Linked DNA regions of Homo sapiens: region 1 is linked to region 2. The links are contacts of gene promoters, found by promoter capture Hi-C in human tissues and cell types (Jung and others, 2019). All regions are on one chromosome and are shown on one strand. The core of a region is centred on a gene start or on the middle of the fragment in contact, and the rest is flanking DNA. Distances in the headings are between cores, read along the strand shown.

Region 1 (6,985 bases), core at 3,335-5,834, 460 kb after region 2:
CCACTTGAGCCCAGGAGCTGGAGGTTACGGTGAGCTATGATCATGCCACAGTATTCCAGCCTGGGCAACGGAGCGACACCCTATCTCAAAAATAAACAAATAAAAAAAATAGATTGGGCCTGGTGGCTCACACTTGTAATCTGAGCACTTTGGGAGGCCAAGGCAGGAGGATCGCTTGAGCCTAGGAGTTTGAGACCAGCCTGAGCAACATAGTGAGACCCTGTTTCTACAAAAATAAAATGAAACAAAAATTGAAATAAATAAGTACAAAAATATGGAAAAATGGTTATGAAATAATGTTAAGCAAACATTTCCAAATAGAAAATGGGAAATATGCTTTGAATACAACTTTCTAAAAATATACTTGCAAGTAGTCAAGTAAGCTAAAACCTGAGTTAGGATACCATCACCATGGGTAAATTCCCCAACCAAATTGTAATTCTGTCTGTCTTTTCAGCTTTAGGTTAACACTGCCATGTTAAAAACATTATTTAAGGGGGGTTGCCTTTGTAATTTAAAATTTTTAACATTAAAGGACCTAGTTTAAAGAAATCATCAGCAGTGCAGACAAAGGTTTACACAAAATAATCATCATTAAGATGTTCTCTGAAGCATTACTCATAATGTTTAAATGTTGAAAATGGCCTAAATAACAACAATGGAGGAAACAGGTGAGAACTGCAAGCCTATGAGATAAAATGTATTTAGGAATACATTTGTATATGGACAGTAAAATGTTAACAGTAGTTATTTCTCAGTGGTGGATCTTAAAGTCAGCCTTATTTAATCTGTTCAGTATTTTCCTCATTTTTTTACTCAATGGAAGTTTATTATTTTTATAATCGGAAAAAATTATATATTTTTAAAAGGCTGACAATTGAAGAATAAGGAAAAACATTACATATATTTCTTAGGCCAGAGTCTAACTTATTATTGCAGATCTTGCAAAACCAGTAACTACTTCCACCAAGGACTATCTTCTTGTGGTTATCTTTAGGTAACTTGAACTGATATTTTATCTTACCTAGATGGAATCTTTTATGATTTGCCAGCTAGATTTTTTGCTTATGTTCTGAAATGTGTTACAAAGTAATGATTACTGTAGTCTGCTAAGCTGCTAGAGATTGTGCTATGAGCTTTTAGTTTCTGTTTAATTTATGTCACACACAAAAGGCCAAGCAAGCCCTTCCTGAAAGCACTGCTGAAGGTGATATGAAGGACTCCAGAGTGGTTAAGTCCCAAGCTCCCAATAATCTATGGCAATTTCTATTTCACTTGAACCCATTTCCATTTATAGACTATATTCAAGCATGACAAAATGCAAGTGCTGCAAATGTCTTGCCAAAAACTTTAAAAATAAAAGCCACACCCACCATGATTATCACTGGTTCCCTCTCTAATGCAAATTATGAGTTAAATAAATCAGCATGCTAAAGATAGATCTTCCTGTGTGAAGAGCTCAATGTCCGCAATCAGTGTGACAAAGTGAGAAGACACAATGTGTCACCATGATTAACTGAACCTTAAACATGAACATCCCAAGCTGCTGTGCAGATGTGTGATGCTGATAAGATGAGCTGATTGTAATGCTCTCTGACTGCCAAGAAATACGCTCTAAAAGCCACACCCGAAAGGTCTGGGAGAAAGCTCAGTATGAAGTCACCAAGAAAGAACAAAATATCACCCAACTCAAGGTTCAGTCTTGTGGGCAGGGCTGGAAGGGCTTTGGGAAGAACTGTCCTATATCTTTATTTTACATATATATATGTATGCGCAAGACAGAGGCCTAGAGAGGTTGAGTCACTTGCTCCAAGTCACACAGCAAGTAGCAGAATTGATAGAATCCTGCCTTTACCCAGTTCCCACCATCCTTTCAGGTCAAAATTTCCTATAATGGCATAGTCCTCGACCAATATATCTTTCTGAGAGTCTAGAAAGACAGGAGGTGTTGAAAGGAAAATAATGAGCCCACAGGGCAGAGAGAGAAAACTGAGGCACAGTGAGATGGAATGTTTTAACAATTAGTTGGCAGGTGTTATATGGGACTTTATCCACTATCTTCTCACCCAGTGTAGATATTTATCACCAGAATCAAGAAACAGCTTAGAGCTAAATGACTCAGAATACAAGCTCACAGTTCCTACCTGCTTCAGCTGTTCGGACCCTGAAGTTAGATCACTAAGAAGTGTGAGAGGTAGCTTATCTGACCAAATGAGATATCTGTTTGCGGCCTCATCAGTCAAGTAACTGACACCCATCTAGCTCAGAAGTTTTTCCCTTGATTTTCTCAAACATTCTTTCAAGTCACTGTTTTTTTTTTTTTTTTTGGTCATCATTTAAAATTAGTTATGCAGGTATGGAAGAGAAAGGCCTTTGACAAGACAGCTAAGATGTGGTCACTGCCCACCTGAAAAACAGATGAACACGCGAATGAATGGTAGAAAGAGCAATAGACTTGGAGTCAGCAGATGTCAGGAAGTTACTGAACTTTTCTGAGCCTCTACTTTCCTCTTCTGGAAATCTGTGTTACAGGATTGGTGTGAGGTCTAAATCTAAATGAAACAACATGTGTAAAGTGCTTACAACAGTGCTTGGCTAATGTATCTTAGCTACGACTATTACCTTCATTGTCATTATCATTGGTAAGTCTTAGTTTTGCTACTGATTACCTAGGTGAGAGCATCTCAAACTTTTAATGTGCACAGGAAACATCCGGGATCTTGGTAAAAGGCAGGCTCTGATTTATTAGATCTGGGCCTTGTTATTGTTGTTGTTTTCTTCTTCTTCTTCTGTTTTTAAAAATACAGAGGAGGTCTCACTGTTTTGCCCAGGTTGGTCTCGGACTCCTGGCCTCCAGTGATCCTCCTGCCTTGACCTCCCAAAGTGCTGGGATTACAAGCGTGAGCCACTACACCCAGCCTAGATTCTGCATTTCTGACAAGGTCCTGGGGACATGGTACATCTGTCACAGAGAACACACTTTGAGCAGCAAGGATCTCCCTAACTCAGCACCTAGAAAATGCTCAATATTACTGACAAAAACAAGTGACCTCTCCACACCACAATGTCTTCATTTGTAAACCAGGGATAATATGTAGTCCAGATGATCTCAACTGATTGACAATTAGTAAATGAGAATGCACAGGAAAGAGCGTTCTAAACTGCAAAGTTATACAAATAGCAGTGGTGGCCAGGTGCTGTGGCTCATGCCTGTAATCCCAGCACTTTGGGAGGCTGAGGCAGGAAGATTGCTTGAAGCCAGGAGTTTGAGACTAGCCTGTAACATAGCAAGACCCCATCTCTACAAAAAATAAAAATTAAAAACAAAAATTTTTTTTTTTTAATTAGCTGGGTGTAGTGGCATGCACCTGTAGTCTCAGCTACTTGGATGGCTGACGTGGGAGGATCGCTTGAGCCCAGGAGTTGGAGGTTACAATGAGCTATGACTGCACCACTGCACTCCAGCCTGGGCAACAGAGTGAGACCAAGTTTTCTAAAAAAATTAGCGGCTCATGCCTGTAATCCCAGCACTTTGAGAGGCCAAGGTGAGTGGATCACTTGTGGCCAAGACGCCTGGACAATACAGTAAGACCCGTCTCTACAAATTTCTTTTTTTTGAGATGGAGTCTCACTCTGTCACCCAGGCTGGAGTGAAGTGGTACAATCTCAGCTCACTGCAACCTCCGCTTCCTAGGTTCAAGCGATTCTCCCGCCTCAGCCTCCGAAGTAGCTGGGACTACAAGCATGCACCACCACACCCGACTAATTTTTGTATTTTCAGTAGAGATGGGGTTTCCCCATGTTGGCCAGGCTGGTCTTAAACTCCTGATCTCAGGTGATCCACGTGCCTCAGCCTCCCAAAGTGCTGAGATTACAGGTGTGAGTCACCATGCCTAGCCATCTACAGAATTTTTTTTTTTTTTGAGACGGAGTCTCACTCTGTCGCCCAGGCTGGAGTGCAGTGGTGCGATCTCAGCTCACTGCAACCACCACCTCCCGGGTTCAAGCGATTCTCCTGCCTCAGCCTCCTGAGTAGCTGGGATTACAGGTGCGCACCACCACGCCCAGCTAATTTTTGTATTCTTAGTAAAGAAGGGGTTTCACCATGTTGGTCAGGCTGGTCTCAAACTCCTGACCTCGTGATCTGCACACCTCAGCCTCCCAAAGTGCTGGGATTACAGGCATAAGCCACCACACCCGTCCCCAAAACATTTTTTTTTAAATTAGCCAGGCACGACAGTACATGCCTGCGGTCCCAGCCACTCAAGAGACTGAGGTAGAAGGATCACTTGAGCCCAGGAGTTCAAGGCTGTGGGGGAGCCATGATCACACCACTGCATTCCAACCTGGGTGACAGAGGGAGTCCCTGTCTCCAAAATGAATAAATTTATTAAATTTAATTAAATAAACAAGTGGCAGTGATAAGACTATTAGTTTTACTATTCACAATGTTGAATGTACAACCCTGTAATGCCCAGATTTACAAGTACAGTTACTGGAATACATAACAATGAAGCTCGAATTCCCTTGCTCAGAAGAGATTCAAGAATCCTCTAGGAATTCTGGTAGAGTACAATAGGTTTTCCAGGGATTCTGAAGTCAAAAGCTCTGAAACTTCAGAACTGTCATTTGGTGACCAGGAAAGAACCACTTTGGCAGGGAGAATGTGGCCATTTGGCACACCAAGTGAACTTCACTAGTGATTCCGCTCCCTCTTCCAGAGCTGGCCAGGCTCCCTCAGCCAAGATCCCGAGTCAGCACTGCAATGCCAACAGCACAAGACAGAAAGACAGATGGGTACTGCCCTGGCAAAGCCCACACCTGCCGCTCCACAGGCTGGCAAAAAGCCAGACTGTAGAAAAGCAGGACTTTTTTTTTTGGTTCACAGTAAGAACGTCAAGCTTCAATCAGTTGCACCTGGCTAGCTTCTGCCAGCATAATCTGGGATTTCCTCCCCACAGACTATAAAGTATGATGCTTATACCTTGTGCCTCTCCTCTACAGGGTTCAAAATAAACTATGAATAATTCTTCCTCATAGGGCCCCTTACCAAAAAGTCCTTTCATCATTTCAGAGGCAGATGGCATCTCTAACATCTACTTAATTGCTCAGGCCAAAAACCCAGGAGTCATCCTTATTCTCTCACCCTCATCCCGCCATCCTGCTGGTTCTACCTCCGAAACACATCCCCAATCCGTCCTCTTACCATCTCCACTGCCACCAACCTAGAAAGCCACTATCTTCTCTCACCTAACCTCTTAACTAGCCTCCTGGCTGCCACTCCTATGCCCTCTAAAATTCACTGCCACAAAGAGGCCAGAGTGATTTTTTTAAAAAACAAAAATAGATCATGCCACGTCCCTTCTCCAGAACCTCCAATGATTTCCACAGCTTTTAGAACAAAATCCCAACTCATTACTCTAGCAGACAAGGTCCTGTATGATCTGAGCGCTCCCTACCACTTCCATCCCCTACATCCACCCACCTCCCCACTCTGCCTTTGACTCACCTGTCCCTGCCATTGTAAGCCTTCTTGCAGTTTCTGGAACTTACCAAGCTTGTTGCCACCTCACAGCCTTTACCCTTGCTCTTCCTTCTGACATGTCTTCAAATGGCTGGCCCGTCCCTGGGAGCAAATCTCAGCAAAAACGTCACCATCCTAGCAAGGCCTTTTCTTTTTCTTTTTGTTTGTTGGGTTTTTTTTCTTTTTGAGATGGAGTCTCGCTCTGTTGCCCAGGCTGGAGTGCAATGGCGCAACCTCGGCTTACTGCAGCCTCTGCTTCCCAGGTTCAAGCAATTCTTGTGCCTCAGCCTCCTGAATAGCTGGGACTACAGGCACGTGCCACCACACCCAGCTAAGTTTTGTATTTTTAATAGAGATGGGATTTCACCCCAGCACTTATTCCTCATCCAAATTCCCTTGTTCATTTACTGCTGTATTTTTCTGTTTGCTGCCAGTAGAATATAAGCTGCATGAGAGCAAGGGACTCTGTACCTTTCTACCATGATATCTCCAGGCTAAAACAGAACTGACACATTCTAGGTGCTCAGGAAATACTGAATAAATACAATCCGGGCAGGATAGTGGTAAGTACACTGAATTTGAAGACAGAAGACTGGATTTCAACGTGAAATGGGCCACTCAATAGCATCATGGCTTCTTGGCTTCCATTCAGATTCCTCGACTATAAAACAGAGATCCTAATCTGCACCTTACCTTCCTTGAAGGGACACAGATAAGATTAAATGAGTAAAAGCATGTGTAAGCAAGTGTAGGCATTTTTGTAAGCCATTAGGCACCTTATTGTTATTGTCAAGTATTGCTACTCTCTGTTACATAAGACGGGGTCTTTCTCAGGGACTTGCGAATTAATGGATGAAAAGGCTTAGGAAGCAATCTGAGGTTTCTAATCCAGGCACCTAACAGAAGTCTAGGGACACAACAAAACAGATTAGAATCAGTGGCTTCACTCTGCAGCCAAGGCAAACATAAGATATGAATTCATTTAAAGATGTCAAATGCAGTAATTTGCAAATTAAGCTCTGAGTTCCTCGAAGGATATGGAGATGGGATTGACCTCCACATCCTCCATGTGCCTAGCATAAGGGGATTTAGCAAATATTTACTGAATTGGATGTTGAGCTACTAAACCTAACGTCCTACCATCAGCTTTCATCTTTCTTTCTTTTTTTTTTTTTTTTTTTTTTTTTTGAGACGGAGTCTTGCTCTGTCGCCCAGGCTGGAGTGCAGTGGCGCAATCTTGGCTCACTGCAAGTTCCACCTCCCCGGTTCACGCCATTCTCCTGCCTCAGCCTCCCGAGTAGCTGGGACTACAGGCGCCCGCCACCATGCCCAGCTAATTTTTTTTTTCTTTTAGTAGAGATGGGGTTTCACTGTGCTAGCCAGGATGGTCTCGATCTCCTGACCTCGTGATCCACCCGTCTTGGCCTCCCAAAGTGCTGGGATTACAGCCGTGAGCCACCA
Region 2 (6,480 bases), core at 1,074-3,573:
ACCCAGCACTTTGGGAGGCCGAGGCAGGCGGATCACCTGAGGTGGGGAGTTCAAGACCAGCCTGACCAACATGGAGAAACCCGTCTCTACTAAAAGTACAAAATTAGCCGGGGTGGTGGCACATGCCTGTAATCCCAGCTACTTGGGAGGCTGAGACAGGAGAATCACTTGAACCCGGGAGGCGGAGGTTGCAGTGAGCCGAGATCTCGCCATTGCACTCCAGCCTGGACAAAAAGAGCAAAACTCCGTTTCCAAAAAAAAAAAAAAAAGACAAAAGTTAGCTGGGTTTGGTGGTGGCCACCTGCATTCCCAGCTATTCGGGAGGCTGAGGCTGGAGAATCACTAGAACCCGGGAAGCAGAAATTGCAGTGAGCCGAGATTGTGCCACTGCACTCCAGCCTGGGTGACAGAGCCAGAATCTGTCTCAAAAAAAAAAAAAAAAAAAATTCTTGCACGGTGAGTAGGGCCTCTGAGTTCCTGTCTGTTTGTCACCCGAAGGTTTATTCTCTTCCAGGTACTCCAAACTCGGACTGTGTCCTGTACACATTCTCAAAGCACCTCCTACTTTTTGGCATCCCTTAATACTTTCACACACACTTGCGTCTGCCCCCTGGGTCAATTCTGACTTCTCAGAGGCCAGGCACTGCATCTGGTTCATCTGGTTGTGTCACTGTGGAATCCCCACCCCCTATCATGTCATGGTATCTGCCTCACAGCAGACCTTCTTTTTTTTTTATGGAGATGTGGTCTTGCTCTGTCGCCCAGGCTGGAGTGCAGTGGCGCCATCTGGGTTCACTGCAGTCTCGATCTCAAGATCTCAAGTGATCCTCTTGCCTCAGCCTCCGAGTAGCTGGGACCACAGGCATGTGCCACTCAATATTTGTTGAATGAATGTATGAATGATATAATGACTGAAGGGGATGGGCTTGGCCTTTGGGTAGAAGACTTTTTTGTTTTTTCTTTGAGACGGAGTTTCGCTCTTGTTGCCCAGGCTGGAGTGCAATGGCGCGATCTCGGCTTACCGCAACCTATGCCTCCCGGGTTCAGGGAATTCTCCTGCCTCAGCCTCCCGAGTAGCTGAGATTACAGACATGCACCACTACGCCCGGCTAATTTTGTATTTTTAGTAGAGACGGAGTTTCTCCATGTTGAGGCTGGTCTCAAACTCCTGACCTCAAGTGATCCGCCCGCCTCAGCCTCCCAAAGTGCTGGGATTACAGGAGTGAGCCACCGCGCCGGGCCGGGTAGAAGACATTTTGTTTATACTTTTACAGAAGGGATTTTCAGGAAAGGGTAGAGGAGAGGAGGAGGGCTGGTGAGGAAGGCCAGCCAAACCCCCCACATTTCCCTGCTCCAGGTTTCTCGGCATTACCTCTTTACCCTCAAGGCTGGACTTAGGGGCTAGGTGAAGCCCTTAGGCTTGGCGTTCAGTTCCTAGATTCTGGGTAGCATGTCTCTATTTTCTCATGTTTCCAGTGGGGATTAGGGTAATATTCACCTGGGAACTGTGAGGAGCCCCTGGGAAGAGAGGGCATGGGGGTTAGAGTGTTTGAGGGGCTGCAGTGATGATCACGGTCTCAGTAACCTCCCCTCACCCACCTCACCACCACCCTCCCTGCCCCGCACAGTCAAAGCCCTCGCACTATTTTGAGGAAACTTTGGTAAGTCAGTTTCTTCCACTCCAGAAGGTCTCAAAGTGTAGTCCCTGGGTGCTTATTGGAAATGCAAATTCTCAGGCTCCACCCTGGCCTTTCGAATCAGATCCTCTGGGGGCGGGGCCCGGCAATACCAGGTGATGCTGGGGTGATGCTGATGCCCTTCCAAGGTTGAGACCTAGTCTCTACTCTGATGTCAGCTCTCCGAGAGACACTCTGGCCTGCTTTGTTCCCTTCCCTGTCCCCAGTGTCTGGCATCGAGTAGGCTGCCATAAATATCTCTGGAGTGCATAGTAACAGTGATGATGATAATAGCAGCTAGCCATTGATTGAAGACCTCTTGTGTGCCGGTCTCTGCGTTAAACATTTCTGGAGGCTTAACTCATTTAAGGAGCTACCCCAGCCATCATTTTCTCAGATGGTGAAACTGAGGTTCAGAGAGGCCAAGCGCCGTACCCAAAGGTCACTCAGCGGGAGAGCTGGCAGGAAACCTCGCGTCTGCCGGTGCCGGCGCCGCCCCTGCCCCTCCCCGGAGCCCGGCGGCCGCGCGTGTCCGCGGCCCTGCGAGGGCTCCCCGGCTCCGGACAGCCCAGGGCGGCCGGGGGAGGAGTGCGCTGCGACGGCCGTGGCGAAAGTGCGGTTGTGGATGCGCGGAGAGGCCGGCAGCGGTGGCAGCGGCAGCGGAGGAGGAAGCTGAGCAGGGCGGCGGCGGCGGTGGAACCTGCGGGGCTGGGGCGCGCGCCATGGGCCGCCTGCACTGCACTGAGGACCCGGTGCCGGAGGCCGTGGGCGGCGACATGCAGCAGCTGAACCAGCTGGGCGCGCAGGTGGGCCCGGCGGCGGGGCGTGGGGCGCGGGGCCCAGGTGATTCCAGGATCCGGGCCTGGGGTGGGGGGGACGTCCGGGGGTGCGCGGGAGTTGGGAGAGACTAGACAGAGCGGCGTCTTGTGGGCGTTTGGGGTGTGTGAGGTGGGTTCGGGGCGAGGCTAAGGTGAGCTGGGGTCTGAGGAGAGTGTGGGGAGCCAAGGGATCTCCGGAGGCCTAAGGGCCACCTGAGGGGTCCGAAAGGCTTTGTGGGGTCTCAGAGATGGGACTACGGGACCTCTGCGGGGTCCTGGGGCCGAGGAGAGCTTTTGGGGTCCTAGAAGAGGGACGGAGGGGAGTCTAGATGAGGCTGAAGGAGTTTGGGGAACTGAAGGAACAGACTAAGGGCGTGGGGAGTTTTGGGGAGCAGTGGGGTCCAAAGGGAGATAGATGTTTGGCAGGGAGGCCGAGGAAGCCTGAGGGGAGTGGGAGGGCCCGAGAATCTGAGGGGGCCCGGGGAAGCTTGGCCTGGGCTGCCGTCTTACATCTCAGTGTGACATGAGTGTCAGTAATAGCCAGGCCCCACTGGGGCTCTGTGGGCCTGAGGGGCTCGATCTGGGACAAGGCTGATGACACCTTCCACCTCCACCCAGTTAAGGAGAGTCACTGGGATTCACATGGAAAGAAACCTTATACACTGTGTACAGTGGGGGTCTTCATCCTCGATGGTAGGGGAGCTAGCAAAGCCTTTTTCTCCCCCTTCAGGCTGCAGGTGCCAACCAAGGCAGTCTTGGAGGCATCCTGCTTCTGTGCTGGTTGGGATGCCTTTTCATACCACCAAGGCTGCTGAAATAGGTGAGAATGACACTTCTCACCCCCACTGGGAAGATACATCTATTTCCCCCGCTAGGTTGTCACTTCCCAGGAGGTAGCGCCCCTCTTCTTTCATCTCCATACCCCCCACAACTTCCCACACAGTAGTGCTGCTTGCGAGATAAAAACCAAACTTAGAACTTGTAACGACAGGAAGGTTCTAAGCTTGAGCTATGCAATAGAAAAATTTGCAAGCCACATTTCTAACTTTGCATTTTGTAGTAGCCACATTTAAAAATTAAATAGAAATGGAAATTAATTTTTTTTTTTTGAGACGTAGTCTCATTCTGTCACCCAGGCTGGAGTGCAGTGGCGCGATCTCGGGTCACTGCAACCTCCGCCTCCCAGGTTCAACCAGTTCTCTGTCTCAGTCTCCCGAGTAACTGGGACTACAGGCACACGCCACCATGCCCAGCTAATTTTTGTATTTTTAGTAGAGATGGGGTTTGACCATGTTGGCCAGGCTGGTCTTGAACACCTGACCTCAGGTGATCTGCCCACCTCAGCCTCCCAGAGTGTTGGGATTACAGGCGTGAGCCACTGTGCCCAGCCCTGAGTTTATCTTATGCAAGCATCCTAGAGTTTATTTACACAAACCTACTGCACCCTAGGATATATGGTATAGCGCATTGCTCCTAGGCTACAAACCTATACAGCATGTGACTGTACTGAATACCATAGGCAACTGGACTATAATGGTAAATATTTGTGTGTTTAGACAAATCTAAATAGAAAAGGTACAGTACAAATACAGTATAAAAGATAAAAAATAGGCCGGGCACGGTGGCTCACACCTACCCTAGGACTTTGGGAGGCCAAGGTGGGCGGATCACAAGGTCAGGAGATCGAGACCATCCTGGCCAACATGATGAAACCCTGTCTCTACTAAAAATACAAAAATTAGCTGGGTGTAGTGGCGGGCACTTGTAGTCCCGGCTACTCTGGAGGCTAAGGCAGGAGAATCGCCTGAACCTGAGAGGTGGAGGTTGCAGTAAGCTGCGATTGCACCACTGCATTCCAGCCTGGGCAATAGAGTGAGACTTCATCTCAAAAAAAAAAAAACAACTTTCTAGTTGGGTACGGTGGCACAGCTACCACAGTAGTCCCAGCTACTTGGGAGGCTGAGACAGGAGGATCACTTGAGCCCAGGATTTCAAGGCTGTAGTGCATGGTGATTCCACCTGTGAATAGCCATTGCACTCCAGCCTGGGCAGCATAGTGAGACCCCCATCCCTAAAAAAAAATTTTTTTTTTTCTGTTTTTGATAAGTTGACCTTAGCCTACTGTCAGTTTTTTTTTGTTTGTTTGTTTGTTTTAGACGGAGTCTTCCTCTGTCACCCAGGCTGGAGTGCAGTGGCGTGATCTTGGCTCACTGCAAACTTCACCTCCTGGGCTCAAGTGATTCTTTTGCCTCAGGCTCCCAAGTAGCTGGGACTACAGGCGTGCACCACCATGCCTGGCTAATTTTTGTATTTTTAGTAGAGACAGCGTTTCACCATGTTGGCCAGGCTGGTCACGAACTCCTGACCTCAAGTGATCTGCCTGCCTCAACCTCCCAAAGTGCTGGGATTACAGGCGTAAGCCATGCACCCTGCCAACTGTAACTTTTTACTTCATGAATGCTTACCTTTTTTTTTTTTTTTTGAGGCAGGGTCTCGCTCTGTCACCCATTGCTCACTGTAGCCTTGATCTCCTGGGTTCAAGCAATCCTTCCACCTCAGCCTCCCAAATAGCTGGGACTATAGGCACGCGCCACCATACCTGGCTAATTTTTGTATTTTTTGTAAAGACAGAGTTTTGCCATGTTGCCCAGGCTGGTTTTGTTAAACTTTTTGGCACTTTTGTAGTAACACATAGCTTAAAACACAAACATGGCTGGGCGCGGATTTCTGTGACAATCACTAGGTAACAGGGGATCTTTTACCTCCATTATAATGTTATGGGACCATCATTTTATATATGGTCCATCATTGATCAAAATGCCATGCATGCTTAAATCCACAATATCAAAATATTTTTCAATATCTTACCCATATACAAATATCAATGACATTTTACTTTTTGGTACAAAGTTTTCTAAATCTGGTGTTTTACACTTACGGCACATCTTAAAGTAGTTTAGCCCTTTTCTTTTTTTTTTTGAGACAGTGTCTGGCCCTGTTGCCCAGGCTGGAGTGCAGTGGCGTGATCTCGGCTCACTGCAAGCTCCGCCTCCCGGGTTCACGCCATTTTCCTGCCTCAGCCTCCCAAGTAGCTGGGACTACAGCTGCCTGCGACCATGCCCGGCTGATTTTTTATATTTTTAATAGAGATGGGGTTTCACCGTGTTAGCCAGGATGGTCTCGATCTCCTGACTTCATGATCTGCCCACCTCGGCCTCCCAAAGTTTTGGGATTACAGGTGTGAGCCACCGCATCCGGCCAGCCCTTTTCTTTTTAAAGACAGTCTCGCTTTGTTGCCCAGGCTAGAGTGCGGGGATGTGATCTCGGCTCACTGAAACCTCCGCCTACAGGGTTCAAGTGAGTCTCATGCTGCAGCCACTCAAGTAGCTGAGATTACAGGTGTTCACCACCATGCCCATCTAATTTTTTCTTGTATTTTTAGTAGAGATGGGCTTTCGCCATGTTGGTCAGGGTAGTCTCGAACTCCTGACCTCAAGTGATCCACCCACCTTGGCCCCCCAAAGTGCTGGGATTACAGGAGTGAGCCACCACCCCTGGTCAGATTAGCCCTTTTCAAGCGCTTATGTGGCAAGTGGCCACTGGACAATAGGGATCTAAGTGCTTTTATGTATTTTTTTTTTTTTTTTTTTTGATACAGAGCCTTGCTCTGTCACCGAGGCTGGAGTACAGTGGTGCAATCTCGACTCACTGCAAGCTCCACCTCCCGGGTTCACGCCATTCTCCTGCCTCAGCCTTCCGAGTAGCTGGGAGTACAGGCACCCGCCACTACTCCCTGCTAATTTTTTGTATTTTTAGTAGAGATGGGGTTTCACCGCTTTAGTGAGGATGGTCTTTATCTCCTGACCTCGTGATCCGCCCGCCTCAGCCTCCCAAAGTGCTGGGATTACAGGCGTGAGACACCGCGCCCAGCTTATGTATGTTAACTAATTGAGTCCTTGCAATCACTTTTATAGGTAGTTGCTGTT

Evidence for each region. Contacts are between HindIII fragments. The study calls those that stand out against the background at their distance.
Region 1: a contact is called between a fragment that was not itself captured here and the fragment with the promoter of COMMD7 in region 2, in 2 of the 25 tissues and cell types used here (dorsolateral prefrontal cortex and mesenchymal stem cells).

Annotation. Positions count from the first base shown.
Region 1 is chr20:32,280,442-32,287,426 of GRCh38, reverse strand. All of the region lies in intron 1 of KIF3B (kinesin family member 3B), which reads right to left. Among named protein-coding and RNA genes, the nearest start is that of KIF3B, 6.3 kb to the right of the region's middle. The HindIII fragment of the contact is 6,386 bases long and covers 1,392-6,985 here.
Region 2 is chr20:32,739,310-32,745,789 of GRCh38, reverse strand. COMMD7 (COMM domain containing 7) reads left to right here and starts at 2,323. Exons shown (of 9, transcript NM_053041.3): 1 at 2,323-2,482. The coding sequence starts at 2,399. RefSeq lists enhancers at 828-1,772, 2,660-3,487, 4,157-4,658 and silencers at 2,068-2,297, 2,478-2,547, 3,532-3,706. The HindIII fragment of the contact is 4,810 bases long and covers 1-3,239 here.